Linked DNA regions of Homo sapiens: region 1 is linked to region 2. Evidence: promoter capture Hi-C in 16 types of primary human blood cells and fetal thymus (Javierre and others, 2016). All regions are on one chromosome and are shown on one strand. The core of a region is centred on a gene start or on the middle of the fragment in contact, and the rest is flanking DNA. Distances in the headings are between cores, read along the strand shown.

Evidence for each region. Contacts are between HindIII fragments. The CHiCAGO score rates a contact against its expected background, and 5 or more counts as called.
Region 1: a contact is called between the fragment with the promoter of HNRNPC here and a fragment that was not itself captured in region 2, in 1 of 17 cell types (monocytes). The highest score is 6.2, in monocytes.

What each region holds. Positions count from the first base shown.
Region 1 is chr14:21,268,139-21,272,833 of GRCh38, reverse strand. HNRNPC (heterogeneous nuclear ribonucleoprotein C) reads left to right here and starts at 3,392. Exons shown (of 9, transcript NM_004500.4): 1 at 3,392-3,536. RefSeq lists enhancers at 2,663-3,288, 3,392-3,651, 3,289-3,913 and a silencer at 3,222-3,301. The HindIII fragment of the contact is 8,584 bases long and covers 1-4,695 here.
Region 2 is chr14:20,408,327-20,412,918 of GRCh38, reverse strand. It overlaps TEP1 (telomerase associated protein 1), which reads left to right. Exons shown (of 55, transcript NM_007110.5): 2 at 4,456-4,592. The coding sequence starts at 4,480. Among named protein-coding and RNA genes, the nearest start is that of TEP1, 2.9 kb to the left of the region's middle. RefSeq lists enhancers at 385-554, 1-580. The HindIII fragment of the contact is 788 bases long and covers 857-1,644 here.

The DNA.
Region 1 (4,695 bases), core at 2,143-4,642, 860 kb before region 2:
AAAAAAAAAAAGATATTAACCGGGTGCGGTGGTTCAGGCCTGTAATCCCAGCACTTTGGGAGGTGTGTCGGGCAGACTGCTTGAGCACAGGAGTTCAAGACCATCCTGGCCAACGTGGCAAAACTACATCTTTACTAAAAATACAAAAATTAGCCAGGCATGGTGGCGGATGCCTGTAGTCCCAGCTACTCAGGAGGCTGAGGCATGAGAATCGTTTGAACCTGGGAGGCAGAGGCTGCAGTGAGCCGAGATCGCCCCGTTGCACTCCACCCTGGCCAACAAGAGCGAAATTCCATCTCAAAAAAAAAAAAAAAAGTATAAAGCAGTGTTAGCTAAAACGAGAGAGCTCTATAAAATTTTATTTTATTTTATTTTATTTTTGAGACAGTTTTGTTTACTTAAGTCAAGAGGCCAGACGTGGGTCAGCCTGTAATCCCAGCACTTTGGGAGGCCCAGGCCGGTGGATTGCTTGAGCACAGGAATTTGAGACCAGCCTGGGCAAGACGGTGAAACCCCATCTCCACAAAAATTAGAAAACTTAGTGAGTCTGGTGGCACACGCCTGTAGTCCCAGCTACTCAGGAGGCTGAGGTGGGAGGATCTCTTGAGCCCAGGAGATCGAGGTTGCAGTGAGCCTTGATGGTGCTACTGCACTCCAGACTGGGCGACAGAGTGAGATCCTGTCTCAAATAATAGTAATAATAATAACATAAATTACATGTCAACCAGACCCGACAGACTCCAGGCCTCTCTGAGTAAGTGCTACATAAAACATACAACAAACAAAAGACAGGGCCTGGCGCAGTGGCTCACGCCTGTAATCCCAGCACTTTGGGAGGCTGAGGCAGGAGGATCACGAGGTCAGGAGATCGAGACCATCCTGGCTAACACGGTGAAACCCCGTCTCTACTAAAAATACAAAAAAAATTTAGCCGGGCGCGGTGGCGGGCGCCTGTAGTCCCAGCTCCTCGGGAGGCTGAGTGAGGTAGGAGAATGACCTGAACCCGGCGAGGCGGAGCTTTCAGTGAGAGCCGAGATTGCGCCGCTCCATTCCAGCCTGGGCGACAGAACAATACTCTGTCTCAAAAAAAAAAGAAGAAAAGAAAGAAAAGACAGGGCTGGCATGGTGCCTCCCAGCATTTTGGGAGGCCAAGGAGGGAGGAATGCTTGAGCCCAGGAGTTCAAAACTAGCCTGGGCAACATGGTAAGACGCTGTCTCTACAAAATATAAAAATAAAATTAGCCAATGTGGTGGTGCACACCTGTGGTCTCAGCTACTCCAGAGGCTGAGGTGGGAGGATTGCTTGCGACTGGGTGGTTGAAGCTGTAATCATCCGGGATTATGCCAATGCACTACAGCCTGGGCAACAGAACAAGACCTCATCTCAAAAGAAAGAGAGAGAAAAAAAGGACAGTCTATCTGCTTGTCCTGGAAAAATAAAAATTTCCCCTGATAAATAAAAGTTAATGGTTAATATTTTATTAATTTATTAATAGGTAGTAAACAAGGAAAATATATTGAAGAGTAAGAATTAAACTCTGCCATCAAAAAATCTTACCATCCAGGAAGGGAGAGGAGTGTAAAACTACCCACAGTGCTACGAGATAATTTTAAATAAATTGCAATGTGGCAATTGAGTCGAGGCTTTAAGCACTCGTAGGATATTCTCCCTCTGATTACTTGCTCAAAGTAGATGATTTGGAAAATATAGAAAAGTACAATAAGATTTTAAGGCTGGGCGCGGTGGGTCACGCCTGTAATCCCAGCACTTAGGAAGGCTGAGGCGGGCGGATCACGAGGTCAAGAGATGGAGACCATCCTGGCCAACATGGTGAAACCCCGTCTCTACTAAAAATACAAAAATTAGCTGGGCGTGGTGGCACGCACCTGTAGTTCCAGCTACTCGGGAGGCTGAGGCAGGAGAATCGCTTGAACCTAGGAGGCGGAGGTTGCAGTGAGCCAAGATGGCGCCACTACACTCCAGGCTGGTGACAAAGCGAGACTCCGTTTGAAAAAAAAAAAGTTAAAAAAAAAAATCACATGTAATTTTCCCACCAGGAGAGAACCACTACTAACACTTTAGTGTATACTTTCTCCCATATTTTTCGTCTTTGCTTTTTAAAATAGTTTAAAGTGGTCTGGCGTGGTGGCTCACGCCTATAATCTTATCACTTTGGGAGGCAGAGGCGGGCGGATCACCTGAACAGTCTGGCCAACATGGCGAAACCCCATCTGTACTAAAAATACAAAAATTAGCTGGACATGGTGGCGCGCACCTGTAGTTCCAGCTACTCAGGAGGCTGAGGCAGGAAAATCGCTTGAACCCGGGAGGCGGAGGTTGCAGTGAGCCAAGATCGCGCCACTGCACTCCAGCCTGGGCGACAGTGACTCTGCCTCAAAAAAAAAAAAAAAAAAAAAAAAAAAAGAAAAGAAAAAAGAAACCGCTGGCTTAGTAGAGCTGATGCTACCCCACTGCGTGCGCAGTTCCTATAATGTAACCAGAGAGACTGGCAGGTGACGGGGGTAGGTAGGAGACAAGCCATTTCAAGAGGAGGGAAATTAAGGGACCAGATTTGGAAGGATGGGCCAATTTTGCTGGCACTTAAGATATTAGATGCCCTGGGGCCAGAGGCCAGGATTCTGCACTTCCTTTTTATATTGGAGAGGAATAAGGAAGTCAGTTGGTTTCGATGGAACATGTGTTGTCTGAAGAAGGGTTTAATAGGCCAAGAAGCAGATGTCTACGAGGTAGCTGACATTCGAATCTGGAACTGAGAAAGGGTCTGGGGTTGGAAAAACTGCAGGACTGGTTAGTTTTCTACACACTTTAACAAGGCCTAGTCACTGCTGCTCCCTCCTCATTTTAAGAAAAGTCCTTTCTTTATTCACATTGCACAACGGAGGCTTCATTTCGCGCTTTTTTTTCCCTAGGCCCGGGGCTGGGGCAGGTCTTTTGCGCCCGTCACCTAACTACGCCCCTCAACCCTTTCCCCGCCCCCGCGCAGCCGGAAATCCGAGGTCTGGGCGGATCTTCTACTAGGCACTCTAAGGGGCAGCGATAGGACGCCGCGGCCGCCAATCAGGCCTCCCAGATACCCGGATGTGAGACGGTGCGCGATACAAAGGCGAGTTTCCACCCAGAGGGTCGTCCCGTGCAATAGCCAATAAGCATTCTCCAGGCAATAAATGACAGGAAAACTAACCAGTTATAAACTAGTTTCTCTCACGCATGTGGAAATTCGCCTGCTTAGTCTAACCCACTGCTAATTGTGATTGGATATCATTGTGAGGAGCGGTTGAACTGTCTAATTAGGAGCGGGAGCGAAAAAACGCACAGCCAATAGGAAGATTCTCAGGAATGGGGCGGGGACTAGGCCTTCGCCTCGGCGGCAGAGGAGACTCGGGGGCCATTTTGTGAAGAGACGAAGACTGAGCGGTTGTGGCCGCGTTGCCGACCTCCAGCAGCAGTCGGCTTCTCTACGCAGAACCCGGGAGTAGGAGACTCAGAATCGAATCTCTTCTCCCTCCCCTTCTTGGTAAGTGGAGAGGGCGGACGCAGGGAAGGCGCTGGGTTTTTCGGGAAGCGAGAGGGGGTGTGGGAGAGAAGATGTGGGAATCCTTCCCCCTAACTAACCGGGCCCTCATTTATTCTGCTTGTTTTGGGGGATTAGGTTGAAGCCGGGGGCAGTTTTATAGGCCTCAGCCTCTGTATAGGTTTAACCTGGTGTCCTCTAGGCCACGATCGCCAGGGAAAATGTCCTTTTTTCGCTCTTCCTGTGTTAACGGCTGCTTTCCTTTCATTTTCTACGACCGCGAGGACTACGGGATCATGAAAATGAAGATCGTGATGCTCATTAATATAGTCGAAGTTAACGTAGCGCCGATGCCTTCTATTACCTCCGTTCTTCTTACATGTAAAAAGTGGGGGAGGGGAAGGGGGAAGGTTACCAAGTAGATGTATCGCGAGCCTTTAAATCCTGGATCGTGCCGCGTGGCCTACGAGAAAGGTTTAACAAAAGATTCAGCATTTTACTGATAACTTTTTATTTTATTTCTCTCTATGAGCAAATGATGGAGCTCGAAGTAGTTATTTTCACTTACATTTGTAAAAGGAAATATTGTGATATAACTATATTAATATTTACAGCTGACTTTTCATCTGCAGGTTACAAAACACTTGAAATATATAAGTTAGTGGAACTTTGCTTGAGGTAGGTATTAACTCTCTTTCTCAGACGGAAACTGAGGCAGAAAAGTGTTGGTTGCTAGGGTCATATTAAGTCAGTAGCAGCACTAGTAAGGAATTTGACCACGAGGTCAGTCGAGTGGTTTTTACCTAGTTAATGGAATACCTAGTTAATATAGTTCTAAAACTACTGTATTGCAATCTTTGCCAAGAACCTGATGACGGAAACCACGAGGTAACTGGAAATTCCCAAATTGCGCTTAAGAAAAATACTACGAGACTTGAGAATTTTTTAACGTAACTTCCTAAGTGTAAGATGACAAAATTTGACTTTCGGGATATTCTGGCGTTAATTTTCCCGTCCGCCTAAATGTGGGCAAAAATTCACAGCTACGTTATATTAAGCAAATATTAACAGTGCCTATTATTTGCTGGGTGCTGAAATTTGATAAAAAACTTAAAAGTTAAAAAAAATTGTTTAGATCTTTAGTGTCACATTGACTTATCTG
Region 2 (4,592 bases), core at 1-2,500:
GGGAGGCGGAGGTTGGGGATCACCTGAGGTCAGGAGTTTGAGACCAGCCTGACCAACATGGTGAAAACCCTCTCTACTGAAAATACAAAAAAATTAGCCGGGCATGGTGGTGGGCGCCTGTAATCCCAGTTACTCGGAAGGCTAAGGCAGGAGAATCGCTTGAACTCGGCAGGCAGAGATTGCAGTGAGCTGAACAACAGAGCCAGACTCCGCCTCAAAAAAAAAAAAAAAAAAAAAAGGAAAGAGTGAGGTGGGTATTAATGTGTTAACAGGGCAAGGTCTCTGAGATATACTAAGTGCAGAATAGCATCTAACTTATGATCCTGTTTGTGTAAAGCAAAAGCAAAAGCAGTGGTGATGGTGAAGGCATGTATTTGCATATGCATAGAAACTGTGAAACTGTTAGTATAAAACTGTGAGCAATGTTTACTTCCAGAGAAGGGAACTAGAGATGGAAGTGGGGACGGAACTTTAACTTTCCATTTGTGGTTCAGCCGAATCTCCTTTCAAAAACTCCAGGGTGCAAAACAATAAAATGAGCAAAATAGTGAGACTGTCCTTTTAAGGATAGGACAGTCTCACTATGTTGCTCAAATAAACTGTCCTTATTTTTCTGTTTATTTTTGGCTTGAGATCTCTTTTAAAAAAAATCTGAGTCAATTCTGAGTTTCCCCACTCCTTTCCTTGGGGGCTTATATAGGGCAACGACATGAGCAAAGTGTATTGGGCACAGAAGCCATCATTTTTTACGTGTTTGTCACACTGACGTCCAGTGAGATATTGTTGTCCTTTTTGGCCCTGGATTGTTAGTCATTCAGGTCTTCTTGGAAGTGTTCTGTACTTTTGTCCCTAAGCTTTTTCACACTAAGTTTAGGTGGTTGACTTAACAATATTATTCCCAAAATATTTACATATGAATGAGAGATTAGCCTTTGTCCAAATAAGTAAGAAAATACATTCCTTTTTTTTTTTAAATAGAGGTCTCACTATGTTGCCCAGGCTGGTCTTGAACTCCTGACCTCAAGTGATTCTCCCACCTCAGCCTCCCAAAATGCTAGGATTACAGGTGTGAGCCACCACACCCAGCCAGAAAATAGGTTCCTGATGGTATAATTCAAGCATTCTGTTAGGCAGAGGTTTCTAATTTTCAGTTTATGGAGATCCTGGGAGGTCCATAAATGGGCTTCATAGACACTCTGAAAATTGAGCACAAAACAGTATATACTTTTTTTTTTTCTGTGAAAAAGCTCCATAGCTTTTACCAGATTCTCAAAAGCCTCTGAATCCCGCTGACCAGCAATTGTGGGAACAAGGCTAAAAGGGTCTCTCTCCTCAGGAACTTAATGGTCTATTGGGAAGAAAGACAAACAGGTGATGTGCTCTATGATAGGGGACATATGGGTGTTGTGAAAACAAGGAGAAGGCCACCTAAATCAGACTGGGGCTTGGTGTCAGCACAGGCTTTTTGGAGGAGTTGATGAAACTGAAGTCTGTAGAGTGAGAGGAAAGTAGCATTTGGCCTTGTAAAGGAGGGGTGGTATTGGTAGAAGAAAGAGTGTTCCAGGGATCTGCCTGTGCACAGGCCCGTAGTCAAGAGATACCTTGGCAATTAATAAGCTAAATAAAATTTGTATGATTGAAGCTTAGAGTGCTGAGGGTTAGATCGGGGTGTTAGTGAGAGATGATGCTGGGAGGTGACCGGAAGTCGGGTTTTGTGTATGATGCTGAAGATGCAGAGGGGAGCAAGACAAAGGAGCCCTTACCTTAAGGAGTTGTATTTCAGTAAAGAGAAACAATTAGGCTGGGTGCGGTGGCTCACGCCTGTAATCCTAGCACTTTGGGAGGCTGAGGTGGGTGGATCATGAGGTCGGGAGATTGAGACCATCCTGATGAACATGGTGAAACCCTGTCTCTACTACAAATACAAAAATTAGCTGGGTGTGGTGGCAGGCACTTGTAATCCCAGCTACTTGGGGGGCTGAGGCAGGAGAATTACTTGAACCCGGGAAGTCGAGGTTGCAGTGAGCTGAGACTGTGCGACTGCACTCCAGCCAGCAATAGAGTGAGACTCCGTTTCAAAAAACAAAAAGCAAAAAAAAAAAAAAAAAAAAAAAAACCACAAAGGAGAAACAATTAGCAAGTGGGCTAATAAGCAAACATGCTTAAAAAAAAAGGAGTCCGCCAGGCACAGTGGCTCACACCTGTAATCCCAGCACTTTGGGAGGCCAAGGTGGGTGGATCACAAGGTCAGGAGTTCGAGACCAGCCTGGCCAGCATAGTGGAACCCTGTCTCTTACTAAAAATACAAAAAAAAAAAAAGAAAAAAAAATCAGCTGGGCATAGTGGCGGGCGCCTGTAATTCCAGCTACTCGGGAGGCTGAGGCAGGAGAATGGATTGAACCTGGGAGGCGGAGGTTGCAGTGAGCCAAGATCGTGCCATTGCACTCCAGCCTGGGTGACAGAGCAAGACTCTGTCTCAAAAAAAAAGGAGTCTCACTATGTAGCTCAGGCTGGTTTTAAACTCCTGGGCTCAAGTGATCCTCCTGCCTCAGCCTCTGAGAGTCACTGGGATTGCAGGCTACCACATCTGGCTCTAGCAGGGAGGTCCTTTAGACAAATCTATATACAGTATGTCACCACATGGATTAGAGGGTTTCAACAAAGGTGGTGGTAGGAGGAATGGAGAGAATTGGATAGATCTGAGAGACACTGAGGGAGTAGAATCAATAGAATTTAGTAGTTTACTGGATAATAATAACAAATAATAATAGCTTCTATATTGAACACTTAGTGCCAGGCAATGCTCAAAGTGCCTAATATTTTTTTCTCATTTATTTCTATAACAACTCTGTGAGGTAGGCATTTTTTTTTTTTTTTTTTTTTTTTTTTTTTTTTTTTGAGACAGAGTCTTGCTCTGTCGCCCAGGCTGGAGTGCAGTGGCCAATCTGGGCTCACTGCAAGCTCCGCCTCCCTGGTTCACGCCATTCTCCTGCCTCAGCCTCCCGAGTAGCTGGGACTACAGGTGCCCGCCACCCTGCCTGGCTAATTTTTTGTATTTTTTTAGTAGAGATGGGGTTTCACTGTGTTAGCCAGGATGGTCTCGATCTCCTGACCTTGTGATCCGCCCGCCTCGGCCTCCCAAAGTGCTGGGATTACAGGCGTGAGCCACCGCGCCCGGCCAGCATTTTTCTTAATTTTATAAATGAGAAAACCCTAGAGACACAGAGAATTTAAGTATCTTATCCAACCAAGATCCCAAGGTAAAGGAGGATTCAAAGTAAAGTCTGTCTCACTTCCAACTCCAGTGGGCAAAGGGGGCAAAGGAAGGGGAATGGATTTGGGGCAGAGATATGAGAAGGAGAAAGATGATACATTTAGGATCTGTGGAATTTGGAGCACCTTTGAGTCATCCAGTGGGGATGTCCAACGGGGAAATGGATAAGTGAATATGAAGCTCAGAAGGGAGATCTAGGTCCAGGAATAGATCTGTGAGTCGCCAGCATAGAAATGTCATTTGGAGCCACATAGTGGGTGAGACCACTCCAGGAAAGTATGTAAAAGGATTAGAATAGAACTGCAAGGAGCATTGATGTTAAGAAATGGCAGAGAAAGAATCCCTCAGAAGATCTAGTCAGAATAGTTTTAAGAAGAAAATCAGGACAGTAGCATCATGGAAAGCAAAGGAAGAGAGAGTTTTAATGAGAGAGTAATCAACAATGTCATATTCTACTTGAGGGGTGAAATAAGATAAAGGCCAAGATATATTTATTTATGGGAGTAAGAAAAAGTTCCTTGGTTACCTAAGAGGACTTGTGGACTGGTGGGGACAGAATCCCATTTAGTTGGTTAAAGAGTGAATAGGAGGCAAGGAAGCTGGGGTGGTGAATATTGACAACTTGATTAAAGTACCTGTTTCTCTGGAGCTATGAACCCACAGTCCAGATTATATTGCGAGGCCTCTCTACTAAGTAGGGATCAAACTGATAGTCCTGCAGCGGGGGTCAGGGGGGTTGGGTCTCCTTTACCTTCTTATGAGAAGGCATGTCCCTTCCTCTCCAGCCATTCCTTTTTGTTGTTTTTTTTTTTAAGAAATATTTTTTATTTTTTAAAACTTTGTAGAGATGAGGTTTCACCGTGTTGCCCAGGCTTGCCTCAAACTCTTGGGCTCAAGGAATCCTCTTGCCTCAGCTCCCAAAGTGTTGGGATTACAGGCATGAGCCACTGCACCTGGCCTTTTCTTAATTTCTCTGCTCTTAAGCCTCTGCCTTACCTTTTCCCTATCCCTCTCTCTTAGAATATTCTCTGGATGAACCCAGTCCTGGGAAAAACAACATTGGTTGTTTTCTACCCACAAATCATTGGCATTATCAGGAGGGCTGTGGGGAAGATATGCTCTCATGCAAATACACGCTCAGTGCAGCCAGGTGCTCATCTCCTGTCTTTCTCTCCTTCTAGGCATATACAAGCTGAGTTTCAGCCATGGAAAAACTCCATGGGCATGTGTCTGCCCATCCAGACATCCTCTCCTTGGAGAACCGGTGCCTGGCTATGCTCCCTGACTTACAGCCCTTGGAGAAACTACATCAGCATGT